Linked DNA regions of Homo sapiens: region 2 is linked to region 1. The links are contacts of gene promoters, found by promoter capture Hi-C in human tissues and cell types (Jung and others, 2019). All regions are on one chromosome and are shown on one strand. The core of a region is centred on a gene start or on the middle of the fragment in contact, and the rest is flanking DNA. Distances in the headings are between cores, read along the strand shown. Region 1 holds the start of SSR3 (signal sequence receptor subunit 3). Region 2 has its middle 88 kb from the start of KCNAB1.

Evidence for each region. Contacts are between HindIII fragments. The study calls those that stand out against the background at their distance.
Region 2: a contact is called between a fragment that was not itself captured here and the fragment with the promoter of SSR3 in region 1, in 1 of the 25 tissues and cell types used here (dorsolateral prefrontal cortex).

The regions. Positions count from the first base shown.
Region 1 is chr3:156,553,002-156,557,604 of GRCh38, forward strand. SSR3 (signal sequence receptor subunit 3) reads right to left here and starts at 2,116. Exons shown (of 5, transcript NM_007107.5): 1 at 1,956-2,116; 2 at 654-780. The coding sequence starts at 2,088. RefSeq lists an enhancer at 1,975-2,054. The HindIII fragment of the contact is 9,549 bases long and covers 1-4,603 here.
Region 2 is chr3:156,030,648-156,035,250 of GRCh38, forward strand. It overlaps the pseudogene VN2R1P. Among named protein-coding and RNA genes, the nearest start is that of KCNAB1, 88 kb to the right of the region's middle. The HindIII fragment of the contact is 4,954 bases long and covers 1-4,297 here.

The DNA of each region.
Region 1 (4,603 bases), core at 866-3,365:
GAAAACAAACGTAATTAGCATTGAAAATGACAGAGAGTTAAAAAAAAAAAAAAGCAATAAAATAAAAAGACCAGCCTGGTCAACATGGCCTGTCTCTACAAAAAAATTAGCTGGGCATGGTAGCCTGCACCTGTAGGCCCAGCTACTTGGGAGGCTGAGGTGGGAGGATCCCTTGAGCCTGGGAAGGTTGAGGCTGCAGTGAACCATAATCATGCCACTGCACTGCAGACTGGGCAAGAACTAGACCTTGTCTCAAAAAATAATAATGACAAAAAGATCATTTCTTTAACTTCCAAAAATAGTACGTGAAGAGCCCAGAACAATTCTCTCCATAAGGAATTACATTTAGCTTCTGAAATGTTAACTTACTTGGTGGGTTTGTTTCTCTGATGAACCTCATATTAAGGCCTGTGTTTAAGTGTTCTAATTCCACCCTCAAAATCTGCTTCTGTAGCCGTGTCAGAATGATCATTGTCTCTACTTCAGTTAGTTAATAATTCTTCCTAGCATCAATGTTCCTTTCCCCCAAAATGTTTATTAATATATATATCTCAAATTAATGCTTATTAAAACCAACACACACAAATGATCTTTAAGAAGACATATAAAAATATAACATGTAGTACGTACTTTCACTTGAAAAACATACTTACTTGTGCTTGAGAACAAATTTCACATTCTTGTATGCAAAGGCTACCAAATATGTGCTTACTAGGGTCATCACACTATACAAAACAGCAGACTGAATAAGATCCATATGCCATATTCGCCAGTATAACCCTGAATTAAAATAAAAGGGGGAAGGGTACAAAAAGAAGCAAAACATTACAACCCCGCAACAAAAGCCTGCGAAATTAATTATAGCTAAGCCTGGTAAAATACCAGGTTATTAGTTATGCAATCCAATAGTATCTGAGGATCTTCAGAAGCGAGATAACCAGTAACAGTATAGTCTCAAGCTTTCCAGTTCAGAACATTTGAAAAACATCACCTTCCTATTACTAGTCCAGATGAGATTTCAACTTCTAAAATGAGAACAAACTCTGGCTCAACGTAATCACAAGTCAGACTTCAAATTTCATTCATCAGGGTACTAGCATGCGAAACACAGGCCATTCCAAAATGCCACGTGCAGCCCCAAACCATAGTTTCCTTGCTGACGTGGCTGTTATCAGAACTCCAAGCAGTGCTATGTCCAATTAGTGAGCCATCATATGGCTTCACATCACGTTAATGGCACGCTGGGTTGTATAAGGACAAAAGAGAAAAATACATTTAGTTTTAAATGCCCAACAACAGTGCAGCAAAAGACAGGAGTTCTGGAAACTTGAGCTCTACTAAAAACGACCTTGTCCAAGTCTGCAGTTTCCCAACCAAGTGAGAATTCTAGAATTGGTCCAGTAGGATTATTAAAAAGTATAAATAAGGTAGATCCCTAACCCCTGGCACTTCAACCTCTCTCTTTTTGCAAAAACCAGGAAAATTATGCAATGGTGTGAAGTAGCTCACGTAAAGATGCACTTATAATTCAGTGGGTCACTTCATGGGTTTCTCACCTAACTAATTTATGCAAAATAAGTAATAAGTTTAAAATTTCGTAACGGCAAGCAACAGTTGTATAGAAAAGGGCAGAGGCAGTATGCTTGAGTTTGTCTGTTTAAATAGAGATTCGGGGCCGCCACCCCAGAACTAGTTAACCACCTTCTCCTGGGGTGGAGCTCGGGAACGTGCGTACTTTTAACAAGTGACCTCCCCGAGTGCTGCACAGGACAATCCCAAGCGACAACACTGTGCCCAAAGAAGAGGCTCCGTGCCTCCCCGAGCTCAGGGGAGCTGGAGAGATTGCCGACCCCCGGCCGGCACCCACGCCTTCCCTGCTCGCCGGGTCCTGCCACGTCCCCGCCCAGCCCGACTAGCCGGCGGCCTGCCTAACCCGCCTCGCTCCCAGCACTCACAGATGGGGATGGCAGACACGATGAACGCGTTTCCGAAGAAGAGCGCGGAGGACTTGGCCGAGAGATTGCGGCTGAAATCCTGCAGGAGCAGGTCCTCCTCAGACTGCTGTTTGGAGCTGCCTTTAGGAGCCATGGCGGAGCTGCAGGCGAGAACAGGGAACGTAGAGCCGGCCGCCAAGGCGGGCAAAGGCCCTTGACTCCGCCCCTGCGGCCGCCGTATCCGCTAACGACCCGTCAGCGCGGCGCGCGGAGGCGGGACCCGGTTTGGCGAAGAGCAAGCGTCCCCAGGATTGGCCAGCTTGGCGCCACTAGATAGGCTTCCGGGCGTGATTGGGCGAGCGGGCCAGACTTCCGGATTCCTGACAAGCCACGTGACCCACCCACCTGGAGGAGAGAGAAGGGATTTGTAGTTTAGTCGGTGCTTTAAAAAAAATTAACAAAACTTTATTGATATTCCACTTCAGAGCTGCTGACAGACTCACGAGTTCTCAGTTCTTCAGAATTCCAAAATTAAAAGCTCTTCTGGCCCCACGCCATTAGTGCCCTCTGTGCGTACCCAGGACTGAGTACGTTGAAGAAGAAAGAAGAGAAAGGTATAGCTAACTCATGTAAAATCCCTTCTCCTTTACACATCCTTTATTTCATTAAATACCTTGAAGAATCTTATGACGTGCGCATCATTACCGCCATTGCAGCTGAAGAGCCTGAGGGTCGTAGACCTGCGGTGTGGGTCTCCAAGGCGTGGGCTCTTTTCACTAAACAATAGGCCACCTCTGTAGGAAGAAGAAAATGGGACTCTTGCTTTTAAGAAACTCATGATCTCATTGATGAAGGCAATATTTAATATATGTCTGATACAAGTTACTACTATTTTATTTTATTTCAACTAGACCTATAGAGTTTTGTGGCTTCCAAAGCCATGCTAAATAAAACATAATACTAAGAACAGGTTGGCTAGGCAAGACTCCCTCTCTGAAGCTCAGAAGGATTAAGTATGTCTATTAAAACAGCTAGATTCCATTTTTAACTCAACACATTATCATTTTTTCTTCAAAAAAAAATTCAACCACATCACTCCCAGCAAATGCTACTTTTGATTACTGAGAACACTCTAGTGCATTAGGCACAATTTCCTCAACCTCCAGCCTCCTTATTAACCGTTTGGTAGATATCTTTCTTCCTCACAGTATCCAAATTGTAATCTACCTCCACAGCTTCCTATTACTAGTCCTAATTGGGCTTTTGTCTTCAATCTTTTCCAGTCTATTCTCTATACAGGTACCAGAGTGAGTTTTCCTGAAATATAAATCCTTCCATTATCTACCGCAAGTGTTCCTTAATGCCAGAAGTTTTCATTAATTCACCACAAAATGAAAAAGAAAAAAAGACCATCTAGTGAATTTTTCAGAAAATCAAAAGTATTCATTTAAAAATATCTGGGTTTATGTCTTTTTTGATGTTAAAAATGCTCTTTATTTTATTACATGGTAGTGATAGAAGAAGAAATTATTATTTTCTCTTACACATACTCCTCCCCCAGTTTTTCCTATCTCACTAAGTTGCATTCTTTTAAACTCATTTGTTGTTCTGGTTAAAATAGTGGGTTTCAACACTAATTATTTTTTTCCTTCTCCATCTATGACCAATTCATAAATAAAACTTTTTGGATCTGTCTCTATAACTAGATTTTCTTCTGCCTATTTATAAACAAACTAAGGATATAAAAAGAAGATAAAAGATAAAAATCAGAGGCTGGGTGCGGTGGCTTATGCCTGTAATCCCAGCACTTTGGGAGACCAAGGTGGGTGGATCACAAGGTCAAGAGACCGAGACCATCCTGGCCAACATGGTGAAACCTCGCTTTTACTAAAAATACAAAAATTAGCCAGGCATGGTGGCGCACGCCTGTAGTCCCCAGCTACTCAGGAGGCTGAGGCAGGAGAATCACTTAAACCCGGGAGGCAGAGGTTGCAGTGAGTCAAGATCGCGCCACTACACTCCAACTCCAGCCTGGCAACAGAGCAAGACTCCATCAAAAAAAAAAAAAAAAAAAAATCAGAAAACTAAAAGATCCAAAGAGACAACAATCATCTTTCTTTTAAAAGAAGAAAAGAAGAAATGATAAGGATGAGATTTAAAAAAATTATGCCTGAGAAAAATATTTTAACAATTAAAATAGGAAAGATAAAAGTTTGAAATGTTTAGTGGATATAAATGTTACAATTGATATAATCAAAAAAAGCTAGCAGAAAAAAATTAATACATTTTGTAAAGCTAAAGGTAACTATAAACAGAAGATAATCTAAAATATGAATTTCAAATTATTTTGTGGGGGTAAATTAGAGAAATATGATAGGGAATGATACTTATGATAGAATATTTTTGGTAATGGCAACAATTACAATTATGAAGGTGGCACACTTGGAGTACTGAAGCAGTGTTTTCTTGCACCAGAGCTACCTAGTTCCCTTTAAAAAGCAAGCAGCAAGACCTAAGGATCACTTGTATGTGGCATATATAGCCGTGGCACACATAGCCGTGGCACACTGGACAACCAGGGTACACAATGTGCTAAAAAACAGAAGGAGAGGTGGGTAGTAAATTCTACCCAAGCAAAGATCTACAATATATTTTGCCCATTTCAACAT
Region 2 (4,603 bases), core at 571-3,070, 520 kb before region 1:
GTAATTTATTTTTCTTATCTTTTACTATAAAATTGGGATTGTTTGTATAATGAAATTGCTTCAAATGTAATTCAATACAAATTTACTAAGCATCTACTATAAATCCAACTCTGGGTTAAACATTGCAAAAATAAGGCCACTGCCCCTAATTAACTGAGCAAATATTTGTTGAGAACAGTAGCATATGTGCATAGGAACTGCGGATACGTCAGTGTGCAAAACAGAACAAATCCCAGCCTAATGGGATTAACATTTCAATGGAAGGAAGTAGGCAACAAACAAGACAAATAGAGACATTATACTGTATCTTAAAGGATGTTAATGTCAGGGAGAAACAAATAGCAGGACTGAGATAGGGAGTGCTGTGGGAGTGTTGCACTGAAATTCCATATAGCGTAGTCAGGGAAGGCCTCGCTAGAGTGACATTTGAACAGAAATTCAAATGAAAGTGTGTTCATGCATTATCTAGGGGAAGAATATTTCCAGCACAGGGAACAGCACCTTCTAAACCCTGAGGCGCGTGTGGCTGGCACTTTGGAGGAACAGAAAAGAAGTCAATGTGGCTGGAAAGAGTGAAAGAGAGGGAGAGCAGGAAAGGAGGTGAGAGAGGTTAGAGAGGGACAGATCATGCAGGGCCCTGTTGGCTTTTGAAGGACTTTGGTTTTCACACTGAGTGAGAAGGGAAACCCTGAAAATCTTGACAGAGGAGGGCCATGATCTGACTCAGGTATCATTGTTTGCCATACTGCAAATCAGTGGAAGGAGTGGGGTGGAGGGGCAAGAACAGAACCAAGGAGACTGTTAAAAGACCATAAAATCATCCAAAATAATGAAGGTAGCTTGGCCCAGGATAGATGTGATGGAGGTGGCAAAAAGTCATTAGATTCTGGATATCTTATGGATATCTTATAGGTAGAAGACATCAAATCTGCTGACGGATTGGACCTGGAAGTGTTACATGAAACAATTAGAGGACAATACAAATAATGATTTAAGTCATAATGGTAAACTGAGTCTGGTGGTTGGTGAGAAGGTGGACTTGAGTGGAAGAGAGGGTCCATACAGGCAAGTAATATCAGGTTGGAGATGATGGATAGGAATGGTGGTGTTGATGACAGAAATGAGGAATAGGGTTTATGGGATAGTTTTGTACGTGTTGAACTTGAGGTGATGGTGGAATCTTAATGTAGGAACATATGGGAAGTTTAGAATATGGAATTAAATAGAGATCAGGTGGGAAAGGTTGGTGTTAGAGATCAAAATTTGGGAGTACTTCTATAGAGATACTGGTTGAAGACAAGAGAATGAAGGACCTGCTTTACAGTAAGAGAGAAAACCAGAGGACCAAGGACCAAACCCAGGACCCAAGGGAAGCCAAGGTAGCTTGCGTTTCAAAGAGGGGCTGATCAAAAGTGTCAAGTATTGAAGAAAGCTGAAGGAAAATGTGGCCAGAGGAAAATCTCTCAGACATGGCAAGAAGAGTTTTAGTGAGGTGAGTGAGTTGGCAGCTAGATCACAGAGGTTGAGAAGGGAAGGAATACTGAGAAATGGAACAAAAAGGTATCAGCTCATTGTTAATGATACTAATGGGCCAGGTGCCGTGGCTCGCGCCTGTAATCCCAGCACTTTGGGAGGCCGAGGCAGGTGGATCACAAGGTCAGAAATTCGAGACCATCTTGGCTAACACGGTGAAACCCCGTTTCTACTAAAAATACAAAAAATTAGCTGGGTGTGGTGGTGGGCACCTGTAGTCCCAGCTACTCGGGAGGCTGAGGCAGGAGAATGGCATGAACCCGGGAGGCGGAGCTTGCAGTGAGCCGAGATGGTGCCACTGCACTCCAGCCTGGGCAACAGAGGAAAAAAAAATGATAATAGTAATCATAAGGTAATATCGAGAGTTCTTTCCAGAAGACTGGATCAGAGCAAGGAATTCTAGTTCATTCTGTGATGATTTTATTGTTCATCTTTCAGAATTTGAGAATGCCTTGCTATCACTCCTTCCTGTAATAGCTACTCCTTAAGGTGCATTTAAAATATGATTTTACAGATACATATGTATAAAACATATAAGAAGCTTATCTATTGTGTATACATACTTCTGTAATGTTATGTACCATAACCTAGCTCAGAGATTGGTAATATTTTCTATGTTATTTAATTCAGATTTACTCTGGAAAACTCAACATATGAAAATTCTGATTTCTAAAATAAATATAAGTGTAATCATGCATCTTCCAAAATGATTCTTTGCTTAATGGAAAAGCATTTTGTTTCTTAAACAGGAAACTCCCTAATGGATTAAGAAACAAACTATTTACAAACCTTGCATTTATTCTGGGTTTCAAGGTACACATCCATGTAGAATGTAAAAGGAGGCCTGTGTTTACTACTGAGATTTTGAAATTCGTTTAGCAAGAAAATATTTCAATGCTATGCCTTGTCTGCTTTTCCTTTTGCCCTCCCCATTTTTCTGATAAATCAGATCTTTCACTGTTCTTTTCTACTGACCCTTCATGACACAGCTTTGATTTTAAGACTACTTTGGGATGACCTTGCAGAGGGAAAATATTTTTTAGGCTTTCAAGATGATTCTTGGAATCATAGGTCCTTCACAAGCAGGAACAGACCTGTCAAATGATCTCATCCCCAGAGTCCTGTAGGCATGGAGCCTGGTCTGGATCCCCAAGGTTAGAAAGAAGAGGCTTAGAATTAGCTTTGCATTTCTAGACTTAACACCGAGACTCTCCTTTAGCAAAATTCTTCTCTACGTTCTCCATGTTGTTATTTTCTTTGTTCATTATCTTCACTCAGGCATCCTGGGTTTCCCAGGAAATCGCAAAGCTTCCATGGAAATTCAAATGGAAACTTTCTCAGCCTCATGAGTACTAGAGACAAAGGGCTTTGTTAATACATCATGTTTGTCTTTGCTAGCTTCCCCATTCAGTGTGTACTGATGTGTGTCCTCCTGGGACTCGGAAGGGGATTCGTTCAGAGGGAACCAATATGCTGCTTTGACTCCATCCCATGTGCTGATGGACACGTGTCACGGAAACCAGGTTGAGATGGTAATTTCTTCATTGATATGAGGATGCTATTAGATCAAACATGTTTTTGCAAAGAAGGCCTAAGGAGCCTTCTTTATAAATAGGTATGAATAACTTATAACAAAAATAATTAAAATCCATCAAATTATTGGATGTTTTGTGCACTGTGAAAAAAACATAGTATTGTGTTTCAGTTCTAAAGCTGCTACAGTTGGGAAAATACCTACAACCTTGAAGTTAATAGAGGAAAATGCAAAATAAAATATATGAAATGTGAAATATGAGTAGGATTCATAAAAAATATTTAAAATTATTTGTTTCTGAAATAAATTAAATGCTAGTTATATTCATAATTGGAAGACAGGGGACTTATAGTACTATGTTTTATTGAATTAGCTCTAATTTGGAGTTATAAGATCTAAAATTTCATCTCTAAAGGCAATTGGCTTAAGGTCATAAGTACTCAAAGTTTGTAAGACATATGATTTCTGTAACTACTGCTCTATGAATTCTTCACTATGGCCTGCCAAATTGCTGCTCTTTATGACCAGAATTTTAATTGGGTTTAGTGTGCTCGGTCTTGTGAAACATGTTGGAGCAGGTTTATTTTTATCTCTACCTTCTGTTAAAGATAACACAAAGTGTACTTGTCTTTTGTCAAATGGCCCTCAATAGCAATTCTTTTCTTTTTTTTTTTTTTTTTGAGACGGAGTCTCGCTCTGTCGCCCAGGCGGGACTGCGGACTGCAGTGGCGCAATCTCGGCTCACTGCAAGCTCCGCTTCCCGGGTTCACGCCATTCTCCTGCCTCAGCCTCCCGAGTAGCTGGGACTACAGGCGCCCGCCACCGCGCCCGGCTAATTTTTTTTGTATTTTTAGTAGAGACGGGGTTTCACCTTGTTAGCCAGGATGGTCTCGATCTCCTGACCTCATGATCCACCCGCCTCGGCCTCCCAAAGCAATTCTTTATAAAAGAATTTTGAGGGCCAGGCGCAGTGGCTCACGCCTGTAATCCCAGCACTTTAGGAGGCCGAGGAGGGCGGACACGAGGTCAGGAGATTGAGACCATCCTGGCTAACACGGTGAAACCCCGTTCTCTACTAAAAAAATACAAAAAATTACCGGGCGCGGTGGCAGGCGCCTGTGTCCCAGCTACTCGGGAGGCTGAGGCAGAAGAATGGTGTGAACTCGAGAGGCGGAGCTTGCATTGAGCTGAGATGGCGCCACTGCACTCCAGCTTGAGCGACAGAGCGAGACTCCGTCTCGGGAAAAAAAAAAAAAAATTGAGAATGTATCATTTTCCCAAAATGGAAAACAAGAACTATGTAACCTGAACAACTCCTTGGACCCTACACAGCCCAGTCTCTGCATAGAGTTACATCCAGGGAAGTCCAGTACAGCAGTTAAAAGTGATTAAACAGGAATTGCAATCTTTCCTGCATCTTTCAAAGAACATTAAAGAGATCAATTTCACAGTCTACTATAAACTCATATCAAATAGCCTTTTCTTATGTTCTGACATTCTCCCTTAGAGCCTCCACCCAGCTAAATGCTCTAAACC